Regions from separate parts of the Homo sapiens genome. Here all the other regions are linked to region 1. Evidence: promoter capture Hi-C in human tissues and cell types (Jung and others, 2019). All regions are on one chromosome and are shown on one strand. The core of a region is centred on a gene start or on the middle of the fragment in contact, and the rest is flanking DNA. Distances in the headings are between cores, read along the strand shown. Region 1 holds the start of IPO13 (importin 13). Region 2 has its middle 4.9 kb from the start of RNF220. Region 3 overlaps ERI3 (ERI1 exoribonuclease family member 3).

What was found. Contacts are between HindIII fragments. The study calls those that stand out against the background at their distance.
Region 2: a contact is called between a fragment that was not itself captured here and the fragment with the promoter of IPO13 in region 1, in 2 of the 25 tissues and cell types used here (adrenal gland and aorta).
Region 3: a contact is called between a fragment that was not itself captured here and the fragment with the promoter of IPO13 in region 1, in 1 of the 25 tissues and cell types used here (hippocampus).

Annotation. Positions count from the first base shown.
Region 1 is chr1:43,945,292-43,949,271 of GRCh38, forward strand. It overlaps IPO13 (importin 13), which reads left to right and starts at 1,659. Exons shown (of 20, transcript NM_014652.4): 1 at 1,659-2,393. The coding sequence starts at 2,310. It overlaps LOC101929609 (a long non-coding RNA gene), which reads right to left and starts at 1,308. Exons shown (of 2, transcript NR_188535.1): 1 at 1,190-1,308. RefSeq lists a silencer at 1,455-1,704. The HindIII fragment of the contact is 10,546 bases long and covers 1-3,980 here.
Region 2 is chr1:44,398,344-44,402,323 of GRCh38, forward strand. No RefSeq gene overlaps it. Among named protein-coding and RNA genes, the nearest start is that of RNF220, 4.9 kb to the right of the region's middle. The HindIII fragment of the contact is 5,699 bases long and covers 1-3,980 here.
Region 3 is chr1:44,344,139-44,348,118 of GRCh38, forward strand. The region is part of intron 2 of ERI3 (ERI1 exoribonuclease family member 3); the gene reads right to left. Among named protein-coding and RNA genes, the nearest start is that of ERI3, 9.1 kb to the right of the region's middle. The HindIII fragment of the contact is 5,311 bases long and covers 1-3,980 here.

The DNA of each region.
Region 1 (3,980 bases), core at 409-2,908:
TCATCTCTGTTACTCATACCCTTCCCCTTCCCCACCCCACATATATTCTCTTAAAATGAATATAAATTACTTACTATTCTTTCTTTTCTTTTCTTTTTTTTTTTTAGACGGAGTCTCACTCTGTCGCCCAGGCTGGAGTGCAGTGGCGTGATCTCAGCTCACTGCAAGCTCCACCTCCCGTGTTCAAGCCATTCTCCTGCCTCAGCCTCCCGAATAGCTGGGACTACAGGTGCCTGCCACCATGCCCGGCTAATTTTTTGTATTTTTAGTAGAGACGGGGTTTCACCGTGTTAGCCAGGATGGTCTCGATCTCCTGACCTCGTGATCCGCCCGCCTCAGCCTCCCATAGTGCTGGGATTACAGGCGTGAGCCACCGCGCCCGGCCTACTTGCTATTCTTTATTGATGAAGACTTGCTGAATGACTTAGAGTCCTACTGGATTTTGCTTACCAGCTAAATGGGCCCCTCTCCTTCCCAGGCTCTCTATTCTTCAAGCTCAGATCAAGTTTCTCTTCTCAGGGAAGCCTTCATGGACCTTCTCAGGCCTCAGCAGCTGCTGCCAATGCCAGCTTCCAATGCCAGCTTCCTCCATTTGAACAAAACTACGGAGCTCTTTGCACTTTTAATTTTTTCCTCTTCCCTGCTAGGGTAGCTGGCAGGAGTTAATAAACAATAAAATACAACTGGAGGGGTGACAGGCAGGAACTACCGGGGCCTGTGGCAGACCAGATCTATGGCATGGTCTGCCACCCTGTCTGTGTGCCAGGGGCAAGATAAGCCTAACTTTCCCCAAGCTCGATTTCCTCATCTCATCTGAAAATGATGAATAAAAATATCCACCTCAGAGCTATTAAGAAAACTGAACCTAAGGTAAGCAAAGTCCTGCTCCTAGCACTTAAATGTAAGCTACTCTTACTCTAGTTACACATAAAGTTACTTCCAAAAACCTTACGAAATTCCCCGAGCACTGTCCATGGTATGTGGTTTCCCGGTTGCTTATTGGGTGGTCCCGAGAGCCTTCCTTTTTTCCTTCCTGAGGCGTGCCAAGTCCCCTCTCCTCTTCTCTGGGTGGTGCTGACGCCTTCTTCCCAGGCTGCACCTTTGCTGGGCCGGAGGATGCCCCCGGCAGCGGAGCGCCAGAGTGACCAGGCAACCTCCCCAGCCTCCACCCTCTAGCCCGGGCTCCCACCTCCGTCCTCCGGCCCCTCGAGTCACGTCGTCCTACTAAGGAGTTGGGCCGCAGCGCCCCGCGCCGGTCTGACCCGGAATGCCTGCTCGCCGCGGTAGGCCGAGGACAGGCGGGGCTCTGCAGGTCCCCAACCCACGTGCTCCCGGCCTCCTCCGCAGGGCGCCGCCTTCCGGCTAGGCGCAACACGGACTACATTTCCCAGGGTGAACAGCGGCGGGGCCTAGACTCGGCCGCGGCCTGGGGCGGCGAGCCGCTCCACCGCCTGCTCAGGGGAGTGCGAGCTGGCGCGAGGACAGGGCTAAGGACCCGGAATGAGTTTCCGCGCAGTTCCGCTGGGCCGTGCCGGCCTGTACCGGGCCGTGCCGAGCCAGAACTGGCAGGAGTGGGGGCCTGAGTTGGAGGTGCCGGGGACAGGCGCTCGGGGCAGCCCGCGCCTTGCCGAGGTCCCTGCCCCGTCCCGGCCGGCCTGGCTTGTCTTGTCAGTCACTGGGGCGGAGGCAGCGGCTGTAGCGGGGCTGTAGCCGGGCGTTGAGCACAGCGCGGGCCAGGCCGAACGGAAGGGACCTGCCACAGCCCCTCAACTCCACGGACTCTTCGCCCTAGACTAGCGGAGCTGCATCTCCGCGCTTCGTTGGACGCCTCCGTAACCACGAAGGGCTCTCTCTCTCCCGTGACCCTCCAGCCCCATGACCTGTTCATAGCAGCCGAGAGCTCACCCAGGCGGGGGTGTTGTGGGTACAGGCCATCGACCCTGTGACCCCTCAAGAGCCAGGGACTCGGTTTCCCCCGCAGGCCTCCCTCCCCTGTGACTCCCTCCACACAGATTCTGGGGACAGAGCTGTTACCTGCCACTAGGATCCCCGCCTGAGAGCTCCTCACTGACGGCTCCCTCCTCGGAGTCCCCTTCATTGGGTCTCCTAAGAGCACCAATTTTGGTCTCTGGCAAGCCTCCCACCCCCAAACGAGGTGGGGAGGCCTCGGCAGCCATGCCCGCCCTGGGCCCCCCCTCACCCCACCACTCCCTGGGCACCCAAGCCGGGGTCTAGCAGGGGGCCAGCAGCCAAGGGGCTGGGGCAGGAGACAGATCAGGGCCCACCTCCCTGCCAGGGAGGGAGCAAAGATGGAGCGGCGGGAGGAGCAGCCGGGGGCTGCAGGGGCTGGAGCAGCACCAGCCTTGGACTTCACTGTGGAGAACGTGGAGAAGGTATGAGGGCTCTGGGGTGGGCACTCCAGTGACAGAGCAGAAGTTCTGGGGACTGTCACTGATGGCAGAGCTCAGGCCTGGGCTGGGTGCCCGCTGGTATGGTGCCCCCAGAGCACCTGGCATTTGCTCTCTTTCTGGGCAGGCAGTATTGCAGTGCCCTAATGGGCTATTTTTGTCTTTCCTTACAGGCAGGTCCCCTGTGGATAGATACTCTAGGGTCTTGGGATGGTCCCTTCAGGGTGCTGTGACTTAGCCTTCCGTCCAGACTGGCTATGTTCCAGCTCCATGGGAACTGCATGAGCAGTGCAGTAGGAAACTGGGAACCCAGGAGACCTGCAGCTCAGTCTCCTGGAATTATACTGATGCCAAACCATCCTGGACCTGGTTTTGTTGAGCCAAGGGCTCAGAAAATAATCTGGAACTAAAACAATCTGGGTTGTTTTGACTCTTTGGAGAAGGGTCCTTCCTTTATTGGATGGAAGCCAGACCAGTCCTGAGCAGGCAGGCCTGGGGCTGTCTCCCTTTGTTTTGTGCTGAGTCCAAGGGTCCTGGCCCTGCTGGGAGCCTTACAGGGCTCCTCCCTACTCGCCTGCCCACATAGCTCCCTGCCATGGCCCTCCCAGGCTCCCCGACTGCCCAGCCCATCTTTCTGAACTGCCTCTTTGGTTCTTTTCTGTATCTGCTCCCTACAACTTGAAATGCAGGAATGCATGCACCCTGGGATGAATGGGGAGATGGGGCTCCCTTACTTGAAAGCAGGGAATGATGTTCACTTGTTATCCTTAACCCCCGTTTGCCATAACAAACAATGAGGATGCATCTCTTCTGCCTGCTTTGGCGTCCCTGAGGGGCCAAACAAGGGCCAATGGCCATAACTGGCTGTCAGGGGTACAAATAGAGCTAAGCTTACTTGGATGGAGCCTGCTTAGGGGTCAGGGTCCTGGCCATACTCTTCCGCCCCTTGGAGCAGGGCAGTGTTGGCATGGTGGCGCACTGTTCCATGTGCTATTGGGAGATAAATCTCACTGTTTTCTTACTTCATAAAGTCCCGTTGGAATTGAGACCCCGGGGATTCTGCTAGTGGAGAGCACTAAGCTAGGTGTTTGCCAGGGCTGCAGCTATGGCCAAGGCTTCTCTGGATCAATTGGTTGGACATGTGCCCTCTGAGGAGTGTTCTCACCCTCTCCTCCAGCATGTCTGCCCCAGGGCTGCCTGGCAAAAGTCTTAGTCCTGCTCTGATTTCACACTGGCTTTGGTGCCAGCATCTGGACTGACCTAGGGATGATCCTGGGGGAGCTGAAAGGAGCTGTTGGAGTTGATGGGAGCAGCTGTGCCTGGGAGGGTCAAGTCCCCTCAAGCTGTTCCATGCCCTTCTCAGACTTAGCTTCATCCCTGTGAAGCTGTTCCTTCCACCTGGGCCTTGCCCTCAAGTGCCTCCCCTTTGGGGAGATCAGCCTCCTCTTTTTTGCTTTCCTGTGGAGATTCCCTCTCTGAACCCATAATGTTTTGCTGTAAGGAGAAGAGGATATGGTAGAGCATGGGCAAGGTTCAGGCTCTCAAGATATCAGCAGGACCCCAGGCCCAGGA
Region 2 (3,980 bases), core at 970-3,469, 450 kb after region 1:
CTAGATGACGAGTTAGTGGGTGCAGCGCACCAGTATGTCACATGTATACATATGTAACTAACCTGCACATTGTGCACATGTACCCTAAAACTTAAAGTATAATAATAATAATAATAATAATAAAAATCTTATCTTTGTCCAAAACACTTAAGGACATCTCAAACCATGATGGTTTCTCTGGCTTTTGAAAACCTGCAACAATTTGCCTGTATTACCCATTTGATATATTTTATCTGCATTATAAAATTGAATTTGGGTTTATTTAACCTTTCTTTTGATTATGAGTTAATGCTACAATTCTACAAGCTTCTTAGGGGATAGGAAGTGCATTTTGTGCCTTTTTGGGGGGATGGGGTGGGCATCTTTTACAGCTTCTTCCTACTGCCTTGATTCATACATAGTATGTAGTCAGTAAATATTTGTTGCTAGATTGCCAGACGGTCAATCTTGGCATTGATATTGGCTGACTGTCTTTGGGAGCTACCTGCAACTACTTCAGAAAGTTTCTTGTTGGAGTCAATATGAAAAATGGAGGATTTATTATTTCTACTGTGAATTTATTTTTTCTTTTTGGGTGATAAAACTGGAAATCTCAAAAAGTCTCCTGGTTTATGTGTTGGGCATAGATGAGGGAGATTCCTTTTGAAAGTGAGTGTAGAAAAGCAGACTTTTTATTTTGTGAAGGTTTTTTGAAGCTTACAAGTCCTTATATATATATTTTAAAAGTCCAGATTGCTCAAACTTGAAGTTCCCCTCCTCCTTGCTCCTCCTTCAGGGCCTTTTTCTAAACCTACTTCCCTTAAAATGACTTTTATTGATTTTCACTCAATGAGAGTTATTCTTCAGAATGAGGATGGAAGGGTCAGAGAGAGAAATTTACCCTGTGTTACCTGTGGAATAGGTGTGCATTTGTATCCAGTCTTGCTTTATTTGTTCTGTTTCCTGTATCCAGAAACCCACACACTGGGGATCATTAGGTCCTCTGTGTCTTGGTCGGAGCTTGAGTACAGTATACTAATAGATCAATTTATGTGTTCATTCATTCAGCAAACATTTATTGAGCAGGCATGTCCTAGGCATTGGAGATACTAAGATGAATAAGACATAGTCACTGCCCTCAGTGACCTCCAGATGTACAAGAAGACACCAGCCTGAAGGCAGCTGGGGTCAGGGAACAAGGCAACTGAATATCCTCCATCAGGAAATCCTAAGAGAATAAAAAGACCAGTCTTGTAACATAAATATAAACATCTAATCAAATTAGCCAATTAGAAAAACATTTTTAAGAAAAGGCAATCTTTTACCAATTTGTCCTATGTATCTTTTGCATTTTTTCTCCCTAATTTCTTTGTCTCCAGTCTTACTCGTCTCCAGTCTACATTTAAAATTGCCTCCAATTTTATTTTTCTAAACCCTGATCTGATCATGTCATTCCTGTTTTGAGAATTTTCACTCATTCATTCTGCACTTTTTATCAATCACCTACTGGATGTTTCCAGTGAGTGTGAAGTGTTTGGGATGCAGTGGTACGCAAGCAGGCCCTACCTTCAAGAAGCTTTAGAATCTAGACCAGGTAGTACTTTCTGAATCTTGTCCTTTTATCTAAATCAGTTGAGTCCGACAGACACCAGTATCTGTTGTGCTAAGTACCACGCAAAACAACTAAGACAGAATTCTGCTTTAAGCAGATCAGAGTCTATTAGAGGAATCTGAAAACAATCGATAATTCCAGTACAATGTGATAAATGAATAGATGCATGCATAGACTGCTATGATAATCAGATTTGAGGAGAAGAGAGGCTGGTGGGCAGGGTGGCTTCCTGGAAGAGTCCATCCCAAACAAAGTCTTGAAGTATAAATAGGAGTTGGCTAGACACTGGGAGTGTCCAGTTAGTTCCTTAATGTGACAAACAAGATCTTTCACAGTCCATTAATCTATTTTTCCAGTCTCCCCTTATATCTTCTACATCTTTTTTTTCAGCTCCCAGCCCAATTTCTGAATGTTTTTCAAATTAGGAATGAATGCCCCTGGTTTATTTAGTGTTGTGCTTTGGATGTGAGAAAGCACCAAATAAATGTGGTGCATCTTTCTGGAGCATCAGTTCTATCAAATGATAAGTAATTTAAAACATGGTTTTATATTAAAGCTTAATATATTTGTGGAATTGAAGGCAAAATTTTCATTCATTTTTCAAGATAAAACAGGATACATAAATTTCAAGCTAGTGGCAAGCCATTTTAGGCTTGCCCTTAGACATCACCACCTGCACCACCTCTTTCTTGAGGAAAAATTTGAGATGTACTATCGGAATGTGGCAGGAAATTTCATGTGCCTTTGCATACGCTATTTGCTCATCCTGGAGTGCTCTTCCTATTTTTCTCCCTTGATAAACTACTTATCCTTCAAAGCCCAACTTAAGTGTCATTCCATATAACAGTCATTTTTAACGAAGCTTAAATGTCATCCCATATGATAGTTATTTTTTAAAACACCCACTTCTGTCTCTGCCTCCTTTCCTAATAGCTCCAGGCAGACTCAGCACCTCCTTCTTTTGTGTTTCTACCACCCTATACTCAGAATATCCATTATAGCACTGCTTTCATTGTGCCATATGTATTTGCTTTCCAATCCATCTCTGCTGTTGGACTATAAACCTCTCTAGGGCAGGCACTATTATTTATCTTTCTATTCTTAGTGACTGGCACTTGGTAGACACTCAATAAATGTTTGTTGAATTTGTGGACCATTCCTTACTCTGCATCACCTCTGTTCTTATATAAAGTGATATCTCCTTTACTTCTCATCTTCAGGGAATGATGTGTTACACAAAAGTATATTTTCCAGACAACTGAAATTTACTTCTTAAAGTATCAAAATCTTCTGTTTAAATCATTTTGGTAGGAATTTATTTTTCTATATTTTCACACGTGTGCTTACTCTCATAAGTAAAATATACTAAGTGTAATGTGTTCCTTGATGACCTATCCCCAAAAGTATCAGGATATGTTTGGTTGGAATTCATGACATCCGCTGGGAGCACTGATGGGATAGGGCTTTTTGCCTTCACACCAAATAACCCTATTTTGTTGTAGTTTTTGAGTTATGGTGCTTGCTTCTTATAGTTCGGTCACCATTTCTCATTGTCAGTGTTCTTGCTCTAACAACACTACCCTTTGCTCTTTTTATATACGTTTTAACGGATATTAAAATTACAAAACTAATATATGTTCACTGAAAACAAACAGAAGTCTATGGAGTAAAAAGTCAAAGTCCTCCCTTCATTCCTGTCTAACCCCCCACCCTGTCACGTCCACACTTTCACTCCCTAGCCATAACCATTGTTAACGGTTTAATGTATCCCTACAGGCCTTTTTCTGTCAATGTGTGTGTACACGTATACGGACAAATATCAAATCATATTGTACATACTGTTGTATGACTTGCTTTTCTCACTCGACAGTATATAATAGGTATCCTTCTATGTCAATACATCCTAGTCTATATCATTCTTTTTAATGGCTGCCCCCTTTTAATTTGACAATCTTAATCAGCTGTGAATGGGAAAGCCAAATAATCAAGCTTATTAGAATTGTACCTAAGAAAGAATAAATCGGCTCTGAATGAAGGCTTGTGTAATTCTCCTAGGAGGGAAATGTGTTAACTTTAGTGCATGGACTTTGTAATGTTTATTTTGGCTATTCTGGGACCCTTTTTGCTTATTTCCTGCTTCATTGTGTTTTGGATAGCTGAGGTTGCTGGACATATGACCTGTGAATTAGTGAGGTATTACATATTCAATTTTGCATTACATAATTTTGCTCTGATTTTATGAGGGATTTGCATTTAATTTATTCGTTTAGATTGCTGTTATAGACAGTGATTAATTCTAGTTTCTGAGTACTTGCATCGTAGTGAGGACCACTGCATGTGGTAACAGCTAAAAATATTTGGCTTGATGATTGAACAGGCCTTCTTATCT
Region 3 (3,980 bases), core at 1,090-3,589, 400 kb after region 1:
GAGGCAGGAGAATCGCTTGAACCTAGGAGGCAGGGTTTGCAGTGAACTGAGATCACATCACTACACTCCAGCCTGGGTGACAGAGACTCCATCTCAATAAATAAATAAATAAATAAATAAATAAATAAATAAATAAATAAAATTGTTTTTTAAAATCCATGTGCAATGTGGTTACAATTTTAAAATTAAAAATATCACACAGACAGTATTTGAAGAGACAGATCTCCCTGTAATGCCCACAGAAGGTAGGCTGCATGTTCTCTCTGGTAGAGAGGCTCAAAGCATCTCTCAGCCCAAACAGTATCTCTATCCAGCCGAGTTTCCATCAGAAGAGCCCCTACTCAATGCCCACTTCACTGGCACTCCTGCTACCATACAGCCTTCTCAGGAAACACACCTGCTCCCTGCAGCAGCATCCCACTTGCCCTTGCACCCTCCGGTGTCTTAGGGATTTCTCTTTTCTATTGATGTCTTTATGTTTTAGTCACAAATTTGCAGGCTATAAGTCTATAGCTTATAATATCAACTGGGACTTTGAGTATCTAAATGAGGGCCAGAACTCAAAAGAAAGTTTATGATTCTGCCTATTTCTGCAAACTATCTTTCATCAGAGACTAAGATTTATACACATTTATTCTCAGACATCCTTTTCCGTCTCCTAGCAAATTAAAGGTATTAAGTAGCCCATGGCAAGGAGGAAAATGAATGATTCTCTCCTCAATATGAAGGGCCCAGGTCCCCAGTGGGGACAGGGGAGGGGTAAATGGGACTGCCACGGGGCCAGCCCGATTTGGAGAAGCAGGCCTGCGCCAGAGCCCCTGGAGGATGGTCTCTGTGCAGAGTATTTACACAACAGACACCAATGGCTCCTCTGCAGCCATTACTGTCTATCAGGTAAATAACACATGTGCCAAAACACACATTTAATGAGGGAAATAATATGCCTTTATAAAAAGACTCAATCTGTATTTACCTGAGAGACCAAAGAAGCACCAAATCACCAGATTAGAGGAACCACAGAGGAGTCGTTCTGGTGTCTTGGGTAAATAGACATTTTATAGCCTCCATTACTGGAGGGGTGAGCAGAGGGGGTCAACCTTTAACATCCACACACACAGGCCAAGGGAGTCCTCAGGATGGGAAAACAAGAGGAGGCCACTGTGAAACAGGTGGTCTACTCCCACTTCCACCTCCCCAGCCACATGTACTTGGGATCTCTGGGATGGTGTATGTTTATACCACCCCTGGATTCAATTCATTCCATTAAAAGCCAGACTAGGAGGCAGGGATACATCCAAGTAACTCCAAGTTACCTGCAACAGGTTCTGAGTCCAGCTGACTGAAAGCACCTAGGAATACAACAATCATAGCTTCCTCAGTTCTCAGTCCTGGTGTAAGTCCCCAACCCAATCTGACCTGCAGTATCACAAGTGCTCAGGCACCTGAGTCACAGAAACAACAACAAAAAACACAGTAATACCTGTCTGGAACTCAGTCACTGGCTTTGTCTCAAGCAGCTAAAAATAGCCTGGGAAAAAATACAAATAAACTGCATCCCTTCAAAAGTCATAATCTTCAATCTAATGAATATATCCTTACTGCCAGAGCACTCTCTGTGTGAAAAACAAACTGTCAAAGGTGAAAGAAAACCTAAGAGGCAACACAGTCCAACCAGCCAGGGAAAATGAGATTAGAAAGAGAAAAGGACTGCCCAAGGTTCACACTGCAAGAAATAGTAAGAATAGAACCCAGGCTCTCAACTCCAAGGCCAGGGTCTCAGGCTACTGCTCCAACACAAGGAAAAGGCCTCACTAGTCATTTCCCAAGCTATGCAGTCTCACAGAAGAGGCCAAGAGCCTGAGGACTCTGTCTAGTTTGTTGAAGGCTAGAGGTTGAAGACAAAACAAAGCTTGACATGCCCTGGAAGCTCCACATGGTCCCAATGCGGAAAGGAAGCAGGAACTCTAAAACTGAGTCCTCACCTCAACAAAACAGTCTCCTCTTCTCTACACTCAGTCCCTGCCTTGGCCTGTAGCTACAGCTGCTTCTGCTCCAAGGCACAGCTATGGAGAGCTCCCCCAACTCAGAAGCAGCTGCTAATAATCCCAAACTACCAGCAGAGCTAAAATCACTAAAGATCTTCAGGAACACCAAATTCTGAGGGCAACATCATAGGTCACAGCAGGCTTGCTCTCCCCTTCAACTGGTCTGTTTCAGCAGCTCCAAGAAACACATAAAAAGAGGCAATTGTTTGTGATTTGCCTGCTGTTTGCTAACCCAGCAGCCATGCCCAGTAGCTTGGGCAAACTCCTTTCAGCGGCCAAAGCTTGAAGACATCTTTTTGCAAAGTCCTGCAAGTCAGTTGCAACCTCATCACACACGAGAAGGGGCAAAGCCTTGCTTCCTAACACACCATAAATAGACTAGAGATGGATGGAGGGCAGGGTATGGTAGCATCATCCCTTTAAGCACCTCTCACATTTGTAGACAGCATCTGATCCCAGAAGAGAGGTACCCAGAACTGTTAAATACTTCCTATACTCCTGGTCCCAAGATGGGGAACTGCTGTAAAAGCAAGGAGTTATATAATCTAGTGTTAAAACACTGGTAATAGACAAACCTAGGTTCAAATCCTGACTCTACTACAAATTATTTGTAATAATAGCTATAATAATAATAATACCTATGTCTTTGGGATTCAATTCAACCGTGCGATGTACAAAAAGTGCTTTGCACAATAGCAAGCGCTCAATAAAAGGGAGCTGTTACTACATGAGAAAGAGAAAAAGCAAACACCCTTTTCTGAAAATCTACTCCAAGCCAGGCATTGTATCGATGATTTACATATTTTATTTAATCCTCCCAAGTATCAAGCAGAATGGGTAAGAATATTCGCATATCACACATGAGGAAACTAAGGGCTCGGAGGTGCTCAGCTCTTTGGGGCCCTGTTCTCTACCACGTGTGATGGCCCACATTTCCCCACATGACTGATTCCCTCCATCCGACAGAGGACCAACAATGCATATCAACTGCAGTTTTTCTTTTGAGGCAAAGTGTAACTTTAACTAAAAGTAACTCAACCTTAAGCAATAATTAAGTCTATCCAAATCATCCTAACTAGTTTTCATATTTTTTTATATTTAAAAAGAAAAATTACAGGCCTGAGCACAAGAGCAGAATTAAAAGAACGGCAGCACAAGGAACTCGAAGTCTCTTCTCAAACAAAATTCCACAGGAGCAAATCTTTCCATCTTACAGAGTGGAAACTGGCAGGAGGCAGGGTTATAACCAATTCTTACTCAAGTACCCAAATGTGACGTTTCCTTTTACAAATTTGTGCTTTGGCAAACGCTGCTCCCTATTTTGGAATGCACTTCCATTTTTTGCCAGACAAATTATGACTCCTTCCTTAAAATCCAGCTCAAATCTCCCCCCTTTTGGTGGCTTTCTCTGACACTCCATCATAAAGCTAATTGTTTAAGTATGATCCAGTGGCACAGTTTATTCCTACTTCATAACTTTTATCTCACTATGTTGTAAGATATTAGGTATGTTTCTTCTACTACCAGTAATTTTCAAAGAGTTAAGGAAGAAGGATAGAAGACAGCAGTATAGGTGAATGTGTGCATGTGTTAAAAAAAAAAAAAGCATATTTGACATAATTCTTTGACTTGCTTGTTAGACTAATGCATTTCAAAATTTCAAATAGCATTAAAGAAGAGCATGAGATTGTTTTGTTGTGTGTGTGTGTGTGTGTGTGTGTGTTTTAATCTAAACTGTGCTAAGTCTCAGAGTTTTTAAAGCCTGAGAAACACTGAGCTAGATCCCTAAGGGTAAGGACCACATTTTATTCCTCTGTATTCCCAGCACCCAGCACAGGACCAGGCACAAAGTAAGCAAGAGTAAATGTTTGCTAAATGAATTAATATGCCCACAGTCATGATGCCAACTGCTCTGGAATTAGAACATGCTAATTA